5 separate regions of the Homo sapiens genome follow, and all the other regions are linked to region 1. Evidence: promoter capture Hi-C in 16 types of primary human blood cells and fetal thymus (Javierre and others, 2016). All regions are on one chromosome and are shown on one strand. The core of a region is centred on a gene start or on the middle of the fragment in contact, and the rest is flanking DNA. Distances in the headings are between cores, read along the strand shown.

Region 1 (2,528 bases), core at 20-2,519:
TTCCACATCACTGAACCCCAACTTTCTACAGCTGGGTCGGCCTCTTCCTTCCTCTTTCACCTGTCAGCTGCCCGGCCGTTGACTAACAGCTACCCTAATCGGGCCACCCCTCCTCCAGGTCTCCAATCCCAGAGGAGTTACCCCAGCAACCTGGCAATGCTCATCAAGTCTCAACGCGTGGTGGCTGTGCCAGAGAATTACTACAACACCTGCAAGGCTGTGCGGGCTCCTGGCCGCACCCTATCGGCCGGGAAGAACAAGCGAGGGAGTTCCTACTCCAGGACCGTGGGGTTCTCCCGCGGCTCTGACAGTCCCCAGGAGGGAGCCCCAAACTCCCGGTGCCAGCTGCAGCCGCCTCGCTTTCCGAGAAGCTTTCGGAAGCTTTTCGAAGTCGGAGAAGCAACTGCCCCGGGGCTCACCTTTGCGCTGAAGAGGTGCCGGGAGTCTCGGGGAAAAGGCACCGCTGTACAGAAAGGAAACATTGTAGGGGGGTTAGCCGACCGGCAACATCGCGACGAACCCGGCGACCCCACGCCCCAACACCCTAGCCCGGGAATTCCCCCTTCTTCAGACAGATACCCACCCCGCACCCTCTTTTAATCCGGGGCAGGAGGTATCCGTCCCTGGGGCACCCGCCCACCTCCCACCACGGCGAGGGGCGCTGCACAGGGGGAAAGGGAGGGCTTGCACCCCAACCAAGCTGCTTTGTGCAACGCTGTCACCCGAAATCCGCCACGGCCCCCACGCACGCCCCCGGAGTGGGGAGCCTCCCACCTCTGAGCGCCAGCGAGGCGGTGCGCGCCGCCCTGGACTGCGGGCGCCTCTCCGGAGCCGCGCGCCGCGCGCACAGGACGGCTGCAGCCGCGCCGCGAGCCCCAGCCTCTTCTCGGCCGCCGCCGCCGCCGCCGCTTCCGCCCCTGTCACGGCGTGACCCGGGGTGGGAGGAGCCGACAGGACTAGGGATGGGTAGGGTCCCCGCCTTCGCTTTAGCCGCAGCGCTCGCTCCGCCCTGCCCATTTCCGCCGCTGCGCAAACCCCGGCGCTTGGGGAAGTGGGTGGAGTCTGTGCAACGAGGTACGGGGCGGGAGTGGAGACGGGGCGCCGGGAGAGGGGGCGGGAACTGAGGCGGGGCGCGGGAAAGAGGCGGGGCGCGGGAAAGAGGCGGGGCGCGGGCGGAGGCGGGGCGCGGGCGGAGGCGGGGCGCGGGCGGAGGCGGGGCGCGGAGAAGTGGCGGAGGTGGAAGCGGAGGCGTACCCGCCCCTGGGGACGTCATTGGTGGCGGAGGCAATGGCCGGCAACCAGCTGTAAGCGAGGTAGGCTCACTCGGGCGCGGAGGGTGCGGGTGAGAAAGGGAACGATTTGCTAGGAGTGTATGCGCCCGTGCTAGGGCTCCCAGGAATTCTTACAAGCGTAGACAGCCTAGCAATCAGCCCTGTGAAGTGGGGTTCAGGGCAGAAGCGGAAACTGGGAATAACGAGGTCGGACAGTAAATGACCTGAATCCAATGTCCAGGATTTAAAGTGCTTCCAAAGCACTGGTGTGTTTTAATTATTTTTTTTTCTTTTTTCTTTTAGAGACAGGGTCTCCCTCTGTCGCCCATGCTAGCGTGCAGTGGCACAATCATAGCTCACTGTAACCTGGAACTCCTGGGCTCAAGTGATCTTCCCGCCCCAGCCTCCTCGGTAACTGGGACTACAGGCTCGCTGCACCACGCTTGGCTAATTTTTCAAATTTTTTTTTATAGAAACGGACTCTCGGTTTTTTCCCCAGCCTGGTGTATTAGTGATTTTTGGGAAAAAATAAGTACTGCCAAATAGTGAGTGATCCCTGGTGATGTGGGAAACTGGGGTGCTGTAAATATTCTGTCTTGCTCTGCGGTGGTTACACAGGTGTATGTATATGTAAAAAATTCACCGAGTCATACTCTTTTAAGATGTGTGCACCTTAGGAAAGTTTCTTCTCAATTTTATGAAATTTAAAAACAAAACTATAGCAGAAGCTTTTGAAAAGGTGAGAATGGAGACTAGAACAACTTGAGGACTTTGTTTGTGGGCAGAAATTTTTGTGAAATTTCCCTTCCTTAATTCTTGTAATGTGCACTTTTTTTGTATTATAGAAATAAACTTTATTTCTCTAGAAATGATGTATACAAGTGGAGTCCATGCTGAGAAACTGTTAGAACAGCTAAGACGTTGAGCCCAGGAGTTTGAGACCAGCCTGGGTAACATAGCAAGACCCTGTCTCTACAAAATATTTAAAAATTAGCCAGGCATGGTGGTGCACCCTTATAGTCCCAGGTACTCAGGAGGTTGAAGTGAGAGGATCGCTTGAGCCCCAGTGTTGGAGACGGAAGTGTCATTACACCACTGCACTCCAGCCTGGGGGATAGAGAGAGACCCTGTCTCAAAAACAAACAACTAAGACATGATTAAGTTATGTGCATGATTTTGTTAGACAGTTCAAGTTTGTGTGAAAGGAATAGAGTTGTGCTACTCCAGGCTGCTGTGGAACTCTGATAAAGATTATGC
Region 2 (2,528 bases), core at 21-2,520, 2.4 Mb before region 1:
CGTCTCTACTAAAAATACAAAAATTAGCCAGGCATGGTGGTGGGCACCTGCAATCCCACCTACTCGGGAGACTGAAACAGAAGAACCGCTTGAACCCAGGAGGCAGAGGTTGCAGTGAGCTGAGATTGCACCACTGCACTCCAGCCTGGGCGACAAAGGGCGAAGCACCATCCCAAAAAAAAAAAAAGTCAAAGTCGAAACAGAATTCCTGATCTTCTCCCTACCTTACCAGATCCTCTTACAACTTCTCCCATTTCATTTAATGGCAATCCTGGCTGGGCGCAGTGGCTCATGTTTGTAATCCCAGCACTTTGGGAGGCCGAGGTGGGTGAATCACAAGGTCAGGAGTTCAAGACCAGCCTGTCCAACATGGTGAAACCCCATCTCTACTAAAAATACAAAAAATTAGCCAGGCATAGTGGCGAGCGCCTGTAACCCCAGCTACTTGGGAGGCTGAGGCAGGAGAATTGCCTGAGCCCAGGAGGCAGAGGTTGCAGTGAGCCAAGATCTCACCACTGCACTCCAGCCCGGCCAACAGAGTGAGACTCTGTCTCAAAAAAAAAAAAAAGACAATCCCAATCTTCTACTGCTCAGGCCAAAAATCCTGCACTCCCCTCTTTCTGTCACCCTAAATCCAATCAATCAACAACATCCTGTTGGCTGTACCTTCAAAATATATTCAGAATCTATTTGTGACCATACCCACTGTTACACTCTTGGTCCAAACCAACATCACCTCTTGTCTGGATTATTGCAATCCCTAATATCCTTGCTTCTATCCTTAAACTCTACAAGAACATTTTCAGCACAGAAGTCAGGGATCCCTTTAAAACCTAAGTTCATCTCAAGCTTCTCAATCAAACCCTTCCAGTGGTATTCCATATCAGAGTAAAAAGCCAAAATCACTACAAAGATCTGCAATGACATATATAATCAGCCTCCTGCTGCATCTCTGGCCCCACTTCCTACCACGCTCCCCTCAGTCATGCAGGCTTTGTTATTTCGTACCCACTAGATATGCATTCATTTCACAGTCTTATTCTTGCCTGGAATGCTCTTACTTAAGACACCTGAATGGCTCACTCACTCAAGCCCTTAAGGACTTTGCTCAAGTGTAACAAGAGAGGACTTTCCAACCAACACCCCCACCTCACCACACACCCTCTTCCTATGCCCCTTTCCTGCCTTTTTTTAAACTGTAGCATTTAATCATCTGCTTAAAATGTTTTAATAATTTTTTAACTGTTTATCTTACTAGAATACATACTTCGTGAGGGTAAAGGTTTTCGTGTGAGGTGTTCACTGTTTTATCCCAGGTGCCTAGAACTATGTCTAGCACATTGCAGGTTCTCAATAAATACTTTTACTGCAGACTACACAGTCGGGCAATATATGGATATAGATATTCTGAGTATGCCAAATTAGTTTCTGACTCGGGAGCCTTCATAATTGCTATTCCTCTGCCAGAATATCAGCCCCCAGATAAGTATGTCTTCCCACCCACTTCTTCACTCAAACAACATCTCCTCGGAGAGGCCTTTCCTACTACCTTATCTAAAATAACCACGCTGCCCAAGCATGCCCACACTTTCACTGCTTCTAACCCTGCTTTTGTTTCATGTTTCTTCATTGTGCTTACCTACCTGACACCACATATATAATTGTATCTTCCTCATTACAATGTAAGCTTGTTAAGCACAAAGGCATCATCTCTTTTTCAGTACTGTCTCTACAACACCTCTAACAATGCCTGACACATAGCAGGCACACAATAGTTACTGACTAAATGAATGAACACAATGCTTAAGTTGAATTTAGCTAGTCTTTCTATGACACAGCAGGAAATTCTACACTGGGTGGGAAGCTGAAGTAAATGCCCAACCCCTAGGATTTCTTCTATCACCACTCTTCTATGAAATAATTAAATGAGAGAGGCTAGGACCAGGTAGTGCCTTTGGAATGCGGAAGAACTACTGACAGATCATGAATAATTAAATAACATTAATTAAAAGCCATATTTTTTAATTACACAATTTTGCCATCCCATATACAAGTGTGTATGGATCCACTGAAGAGAAATAGAAAGGAAAAAGAGGAATGAAAGGAATCCACTGCAATAGACATCCCATATCATTAGAGTTAGAGAAGCAGAAGTTGCTAAGCTTCTTATCTTACAGAGCTGGAGTCCACTGAAGCAAAAGGATTTGTACATTGATAGAGCTAGAAATCAGAACCTTGGCATCCTCTCAATACCATGCTCTTCCCACTATGGCTTTGCCTCACTGGCAAAGTACAAACAATGCAAGAATCTAATGTGACACTAATAAGTAACCACATTCCAGAAAACAATGCGTAAAGGAAAAACAGGCAGTTCACTTAAGAAATACAAATACCCAGAAAAGAAAAAAAAAAAAAGAGGAAAGAATGCTCAACCACACTAACAACAAGTATTGAAACAATAAGTTATTTTTCAGCTGCCTCACTGATACAAAGCTGACAAAAACTCTGTTAGCTGAAAGCACAGAAAA
Region 3 (2,528 bases), core at 16-2,515, 2.2 Mb before region 1:
CTTTGACCAGTCAGTGCAATAAACGAACAGCGCAGGAGATTTTTCCAGATACGTGCCAAAGGCAAGTTGGACCATGCGGACGATGTCTGGCAGGTGCAAAAGGAGCCCTTTAAATCGTGGGCTTCTCCCTTCCTGAAATCCAACCAATGACGCGGCGAGAGCTGATCCCGAGGCCGGGGCTGATAGACAGAAGCATGTGGGCAGACAGAATCGTGGGGGCAGAAGGTTCAGCAGACGCGATTGCGGGCACCAGTTAACATTCCAGATCATTCCCGGTACCTTCATTATTAGCCTGGATAGGGGTAAAGTACAAATTAACTCTTTTGTCTTACAACGGATATTGGTTTGAATCCAGCAGACATTCCCTCTGGCCCAGAAACACCCAGGGCAGTTAATCAGGGCTAACCTAGAACTGATCTACGGGTTTCTAATCCGCCAAGCAGTAATCCGAAAAAGTACACGCTTCCCACGATGACGTCGTGCCCCCAACGAACGCAGGCACGCCCAGGCATCAGCACTTTATATCTTCAGTTTTGTAGGAAGTTCTCTGACTGGAAGCAAACACAACGACTCAAACCTATCCCAAAGTATTTTTAAAATAGTGTCTTTTTTTAAAAAGTAAACTAGAAATTGTCATCAGAAAAATATAAAATGATGTGTCAAACTGACTCCTGAATTTGTTCAAGTATTCATGGGTCTTAAAATTAAAGCTTGCTCCTGAGATTGAGCAGGAAAAGAGACCCCTGCAGGAATGTGGGGGAAGTTATGTATGTAGAGACTAGATCATAATTTATAGTTACGTGCAAAACAGCTGCAGAATTGGTGCTCATAGGTGATGAGGATTGCAACACCTTGAGCCCTTTCACAAGATTTTTATTACTATTATTAATTTCCCAAAACTCTTACTCAGAGTGCTATGAAACACCTGACAAGATGTGTCAGATCAGGCTAGGACTCCTTAATATTTTAGCCTTGTTACCTTTTCTGAAACAGATGAGTTAAAAGTTCCATTAAACCTTGCACCAGGCTCAGGAATATTTTAGTCTTGCATTCAGGCTAGTTGAGGATCCATAGCCCTAAACATTTGTCGACACTGGTAGAGGTGACACTATCTTTATTTTTTGAGACAGAGTCTTGCTGTTGTTGCCCAGGCTGGAGTGCCATGGCACGATCTCAGCTCACTGCAACCTCTGCCTCCTGGGTTCAAGCAATTCTTCTGCCTCAGCTTCCTGAGTAGCTGGGACTACAGGTACGTGCCACCACGCCCAGCTAATTTTTGTATTTTTAGTAGAGACAGGGTTTCATCATGTTGGCCAGGCTGGTCTTGAACTCCTGACCCTAGGAGATCCGCCTCCCTTGGCCTCCCAAAGTGCTGGGATTACAGGCATGAGCCACCGCGCCTGGCCAGAAGTGACACTATCTTTAGGGCAGATTAAGTGGTACTCAAAGGGCATGAGCTAGAAGTGTAATATACCAGCAGCTTCCCTGCTCTTGTTCCATCAATGTTGCTTTCCTCTATGGATATACCTGTGGAAGAAACTAGTACTGTCACTACTTGGATATTACCATCTGCAGAGCATCACTGGCAGCTTGCATTTGGTGGCAGTAGTGGGGGTTGTGAGGGAGGAGTGGTGCAACATACACAGTAATTATAGACCTGCGCCTTATGATTAGAGACCAGCCTGGGACTGGGGCTGTGCATAGAATCCTGGCTTGAGCTCCCCACAAGTGATTGCAATAAGATAAATACGACACAGCCACAAGAAAGCAAGTGTTCACACTCTAGACCCACACCTGCAATTCTGCTTTAGAAAGCTTTCAGATATTTATCATTCTACCTTACCCAAGTTTTTTTAATATAGGGTATTTGGTAGAGAAACAGATGTTTTGACACTTTATGTCTAGTGAACTCTAGGATGAGTAGGTGGAGAGAAGAGTTCAAAGAGAGAAGATAGTGGAAGATAAGATGCTGAAATCCAAGGTAGGCTATTAATTTGTGGAAGAGGTAGCATGTTTTAGCAGAAAGAATGAGCTTTGGAGTCAGAGTGATCTGGGTTTAAATTCTGGCTCTGCCATTTACTAGCTATATAGCTAGGGGTGGTGGCTCACGCCTGTAATCCCAGCACTTTGGGAGGCCAAGGAGGGCAGATCACCTGAGGCCAGGAGTTTGAGACCAGCCTGGCAAACATGGTGTAACCCCATCTCTACTGAAAATACAAATATTAGGCTGGACATGGTGGCTCACGCTTGTAATCCCAGCACTTTAGGAAGCCAAGGCGGGCGGATCACCTGAGGTCAGGAGTTCAAGACCAACCTGGCCAACATAGTGAAACTCCTTCTCTACTAAAAATACAAAAATTAGTCAGGCGTGGTGGCATGCACCTGTAATCCCAGCTACTCGGGAGGCTGAGGCAGGAGAATCACTTGGACCTGGGAGGCGGAGTTGCAGTGAGCCATGATCATGCCACTGCACTCCAGCCTGGGCAACAGAGCAAGACTCTGTCTCAAAAAATAAAAATAAAAAAGTC
Region 4 (2,528 bases), core at 19-2,518, 2.1 Mb before region 1:
TCCCAGGTTCACGTGATTCTCCTGCCTCAGTCTCCAGAGTAGCTGTGATTACTGGAGCGCGCCACCATACCCGGCTAATTTTTGTATTTTTAGTAGAGGCGGGGTTTCACCATCTTGGTCAGGCTGGTCTCGAACTCCTGACCTTGTGATCCGCCTGCCTCGGCCTCCCAAAGTGCTGGGATTACAGGCATGAGCCACCACGCCCGGCCGACTACAAAGTTTCTTTACCTACCTGGATCTGTCAGTCCTGGTTGCTTCCCTTGGCCATGCTTGCAAAGCCCAACCTTCAGTTCTCTTCTTATCTAAGTCTTGTCCTTCATTAAAAGCTCAGCTCACATTCCAGTCATTGTTAAATCAATTAAATATTTATTTAATGCTATTAGTGCCAGGTACCTGGCCATATGGTAGAAATACAAAGATGAAAAAAATCAAGGTCCCCATCCTGCAAGGGCTTATATACTCTAGAGGAAACAAAAGGCCCATGTAAGTATATAGGCTGTGTATGCTCACAGACCTGCGTAGGCACTGCACAGGTTTGTAGATGGTGCCGTCGTGGAACAGAGAAGGGATGCCCACAGGACATGCTGGACTCATGTAGAATTTACTGTTTACATTTGATGCTTGGTAAATGTTACCTTATATTGTTAGTTATCTTGCTGGGTTTGTAAGCTTAATTCCAAACTAATTTGAAGTCTCTTTGTAGTCAAGGCTTGAGTTCCCATACAACTTTATTTATGGATCCTGACATCTAAATTTCATGGAATTTTCACCTGTCTTGAAATGTTCTTCCTTAGATTTTTTTTAACCCTTTAAAATGTAAAATGCATTTGTAGCATGTAGGCCACACAGAAACAGGCAGTGGGCTGGATTTGGCATGATAATCGTATCTCCTGAAATATGGTGCATGGATTGTCATCAGAATCTTCTGCCATGGGTGTTTCTGGGATCCTGCCCCGTCCTGCTGAATTTGAATATCAGGGTGTGAGGGTACTTCCCGAGTGATTCTTATGCCAACTAAAGTTTGAGAGCCATTACTATAGTCAAGGGAGGACATCGCAGGGTTTAAGTTGTGAAAAGATTTTCATTTTGTGAAGGCATACGGAAGGTCCTCACTGAAGGAAGTAGGGATGGAGGAGGAAGCAAGGGTTTTGCGGATGAGTGCAGGGTTAGAGAAGTATTTAAGGGAAATTGAGAAAGCACTGACAAGGTCAATTGAATGAGCTGCTGAGTATAATCAACCTACTGTCAAGTATACATTTTTAGACGGATGAATATGCACAAATATGTGCTTTTTTTCTTTCAGCAGCTCCTTTCAGAAACAAAAGTGAAACAGAAATTTTCAGAGAAGGTTGTTGGGAAGTTAAGAAGCTCAGATATTGAAAGATGCTGACAAGTAGTTGGTGGTGGTAAGAGTGAAGAGGAAAACTTCTTGCGATGGTGGGTCGTGGAGGGCAGGTGCAGAGGAAGTGAGAGAGCTGGAGGGCTGGGATATGTGAGTGAAGGATTTCTAGTGAAGTCTTTCTGGGTGATGATGAAAATCGGGGTGTGCGCCTGAGGGTGGGGGTGAAAGTCTGTTGAGTGTAGCAAGCAGGGGAACTGGGGTATTTGTATTTGATGGATTGTCCTTCTTGACATTGACGGTACCCAGGTGAATTTGGGGAGTTGCGGTGGAGAAGACTATGAGGTCCCTAAGGTGTCCAGGAATATGGAGGAGTCACCAGAGGTGGGCAGATTCTGAAAGCAGGAAGAGGGAGCAGAGGGGGTGTGACCCGGCCTGCTGTCTGTCATGCACTCAGCCCATGCCTCTGCATGCATCCTCTCATGTAATATTAGGAGTGTGGGGGAGTCTGGAGGGAGGAAAGCTTTCCTATGAGGATAGTGGAAGGAAAATAGTACAAAGTGGCTGGGCTTGGTGGCTCACGCCTGTAATCCCAGCACTTTGGGAGGCCGAGGCGGCCAGATCACCTGAGGTCAGGAGTTTGAGACCAGCCTGGCCAACATGGCGAAACCCCATCTTTACTAAAAATACAAAAATTAGCCAGGTGTGGTGGCACAAGCCTGCAGTCCTAGCTACTCGGGAGGCTGAGGCAAGAGAATCACTTGAACCCAGGATGGGGAAGTTGCAGTAAGCCAAGATTGTGCCACTGTACTCCAGCCTGGGTGACAGAGCGAGACTCCATCTCAAAAAAAAAGAAAAAGAAAACAGTGCAAAGCAGCAGTGGGAGGTCTGGAAAAGCTCTGACCTGCTGCTTCTGACCTTGGCTTTGCTGTCGTGATGGTAAAATGAGAACAGAGGGTGGGCTTTGTGAAGAAGGTCAGCAGTGGAGGGAGGAAGGCAGTGGGAAGATGAGTCACACAGGAGGGGGAGAAGGAAGTTAGGGGCAGCACGTGGATGCAAGTTGAGAAGTGGAGCTTGCGAGCCGCGAGTGAGGGTTGGGGAGGAGTTGGAGGGGTCTGGGCAGGTAGGGTGGCCCCCCTAGGGTCTCAGAGCCCTGATGAGGTGGTGTCCAGTGACTGACTCTGAGCTT
Region 5 (2,528 bases), core at 29-2,528, 2.0 Mb after region 1:
TCTCACAAGGGCCTCCCTAATCTGATATGAACTAATAAGTTAACTGCCCTTCCCAACTTGGCTACCTTAATTGTCCCCAGAGGACAACTCTGCCAGGATATTTCAGCATCATTTAATAAACTGTCTAGATACTTTCAGTATACTACACTACATGCACCCTCATGATTTAGAAAAGAATAAAAAAATCACCTTTCATAACTGGATTGTCAAAGCTAAATTTACTCACTACATAAACAGACCTATTTTATATTCATGGCATTTTATATAAGTATTTTACAACAAATAATTAAACATCAAAGAAGTTTACGAACCAGCTTCATTTGCTAGCATTTGTAAACATACATATTTTTGTTCTATAGTTTCATGCATGTAAAAACAATGCTAATTGTAAACTGGACCCAGTACAGCTTCTGATGTCCTAATTAAGAGGTACAAATGCTAATTACAAATCACTTTATCTAGTTATTAAAACTTAAGTGTCAGTTATGTATTTCAGCCAACCCCATGAAACCAAGTAAAATTCACCAACATATTAAAAGCAAGTTAAAAGTTAAGGTCACACTTAACTTTTCCATACAATTTCAAAAAGAATTAAAATCAATTAAAATTACCTAGTTGAACTAGGTATGTACATTCTTTGAGTACTATTATGAATCTCAAGAGTCCAAGTCAATTGAATCAATAAAGGAGAGACCAAGACAGGAAATTTGATTCAAGTTCTAATTCATAAAATGTCTCTATTTCTTACATGAATAAAATTGATTTGATAATAGTTACTAACCCAATTACAGGAAAGCACAGGTAGAGACCATCTACTAGTCAATTATAAAGTCTGAATACATTCATAAAACAAATGTATTATGCTATTATCACTGCAGCCATTGTTTAAATGCAGTTATTTGGTACTCCAAGCTTCTGAAGATTTAAAAAATAATTTTGTGCCATCAAAACTGGGTTGCATCTAGAGATCTTGAAATAATTACAAAATCATAATAGGACTACACAATGAAAATTCCAATATGTTGTGTTATATCTTGTATTCGACTGCAAGTTATGACAGTGAAGCGCAAAGCTTTCACAAATCGGCTTTAAATAATAATTTTAAAAAGTCTATTCTGATTAATACAGACAGCTAAAACATCCTTAAGCATGCAATCACTTGAATATTTTGCAAGATATTTTCAGGAGTACCAAGAACTCAATATACCATCTTCATTCAGAAACAAAATTAAACGTCTGCCTCAACCTTTAAAGCTCGATTACAAGGCAAAGTGGAAATTTCAAATTCAAATGATAAGTATTTCAAAATGAGTCTTTATCAGTCCTTTGGTAAAACAAACAAGCAAATGTCATGTAAAAAACTCTTAAAGGATAATGCTCATTCATCATTACTTAAAATTTTTAGAATCACATTTTTCATATGCATGGCAAATTTCTCAGCCAAAGAATTATGAAAAACATTAGAACTTAGATCCAAAGCTTGCTATGTCTTCAAAGTAGCTGTTTTCCTTTTTAATTTTTTGATATGCCACTGTAAGATTGAAGTCTCCTGCCTTTCAATAAATATTAAATATCAATTTCCTAGTTTGGCTCATTCTTGAGAATCAAGTATTAGAGTCAGTCCAGGGGAGAACATATTTTGTTTGAAAAATGAGACCACATGCTTCAGTTGTCTACCACTGTTGGTGGTGTTTTACAACGTAGAGAGATAAATTCAATCTATACTCACCAATCGTGTGTAACATATCTGTGGGTTGGAATTCAGTTACAGTAGCCTTAGAAGAGTTCATGAAATTACATTTTCAAGAAACTTAAAAACTTTAAAAATTCTGCATGAAGTCAAACAGAGCTCTTGGCTGCACACTGTAATCTGACACTAGGCTGAAGAAACTGACCAAGTTTAAGTAACCCAAGAGGAACTGTTTCCTGCTTTCTGTTAGAACAGTCTGCAATGACCTATAGTAACACTGCTGAGGCAGAGGTTACTATCGGGCATTAGATGCTGCTATCAGGAAGTCAGTCACTCGGGTAGGGTGGTTTCTTTTTTTTTTTTTTTTTTTCCTGGGGTAGCACTTATCTCAAGTGTTTGTAAGAATTCAACCCTGCTCACCCATCAAGTTTATAAAGACAAGAAAAACTAAAAGAAGGATTGGAAAATGCACTCAGACCAAGTAGGTAGCTCCCCCTCCACCTCAACAAAAGGACCTGCATGGAAAACCTAAGTTAAGATGGAACTCCGCATCAAAACAAACTTGCCTGTGAGTATCTCTGGGAAGGTGCAGCGGCCCTTCTAAAGGGAACCAAAGGTCAATTTGACATTGGTTTATTTTAGCTCACTTTACCTAGTCTGCTCCTGTAAGATGAGATGAGGCTCCACGAAGAACTTGACTCTAAGTTTAAGCCTGTAAGGGGCTAGCCCATCCATCTGCTGGGAGATCCGGTTTCTCAGGTTTAGCCATAAACTTTCACCTTTGCTACCCGTAAACTGCAGTCCAAAATAGTCAACTTCTATGATTCCCAGTCGCCTG

Evidence for each region. Contacts are between HindIII fragments. The CHiCAGO score rates a contact against its expected background, and 5 or more counts as called.
Region 2: a contact is called between a fragment that was not itself captured here and the fragment with the promoter of TPMT in region 1, in 1 of 17 cell types (naive CD8 T cells). The highest score is 9.0, in naive CD8 T cells.
Region 3: a contact is called between a fragment that was not itself captured here and the fragment with the promoter of TPMT in region 1, in 2 of 17 cell types (fetal thymus and total CD4 T cells). The highest score is 11.2, in fetal thymus.
Region 4: a fragment that was not itself captured here is called in contact with the fragment with the promoter of TPMT in region 1 in 1 of 17 cell types (total CD4 T cells); the score reaches 5.7 in total CD4 T cells.
Region 5: a contact is called between a fragment that was not itself captured here and the fragment with the promoter of TPMT in region 1, in 1 of 17 cell types (fetal thymus). The highest score is 5.6, in fetal thymus.

The regions. Positions count from the first base shown.
Region 1 is chr6:18,153,818-18,156,345 of GRCh38, reverse strand. TPMT (thiopurine S-methyltransferase) reads left to right here and starts at 1,269. Exons shown (of 9, transcript NM_000367.5): 1 at 1,269-1,313. KDM1B (lysine demethylase 1B) reads right to left here and starts at 924. Exons shown (of 22, transcript NM_001364614.2): 1 at 775-924; 2 at 420-463. RefSeq lists an enhancer at 1-223 and a silencer at 664-1,223. The HindIII fragment of the contact is 1,618 bases long and covers 384-2,001 here.
Region 2 is chr6:20,538,118-20,540,645 of GRCh38, reverse strand. The region is part of intron 2 of CDKAL1 (CDKAL1 threonylcarbamoyladenosine tRNA methylthiotransferase); the gene reads right to left. Among named protein-coding and RNA genes, the nearest start is that of CDKAL1, 4.9 kb to the right of the region's middle. The HindIII fragment of the contact is 838 bases long and covers 852-1,689 here.
Region 3 is chr6:20,398,881-20,401,408 of GRCh38, reverse strand. It overlaps LOC124901482, which reads left to right. Exons shown (of 3, transcript XM_047419652.1): 3 at 1-668. Among named protein-coding and RNA genes, the nearest start is that of E2F3, 1.7 kb to the left of the region's middle. The HindIII fragment of the contact is 1,105 bases long and covers 713-1,817 here.
Region 4 is chr6:20,205,847-20,208,374 of GRCh38, reverse strand. All of the region lies in intron 1 of MBOAT1 (membrane bound glycerophospholipid O-acyltransferase 1), which reads left to right. Among named protein-coding and RNA genes, the nearest start is that of MBOAT1, 5.4 kb to the left of the region's middle. RefSeq lists an enhancer at 1,625-2,376. The HindIII fragment of the contact is 1,193 bases long and covers 672-1,864 here.
Region 5 is chr6:16,130,562-16,133,089 of GRCh38, reverse strand. MYLIP (myosin regulatory light chain interacting protein) reads right to left here. Exons shown (of 7, transcript NM_013262.4): 2 at 2,343-2,528. Among named protein-coding and RNA genes, the nearest start is that of MYLIP, 2.7 kb to the right of the region's middle. RefSeq lists an enhancer at 1-47. The HindIII fragment of the contact is 407 bases long and covers 1,075-1,481 here.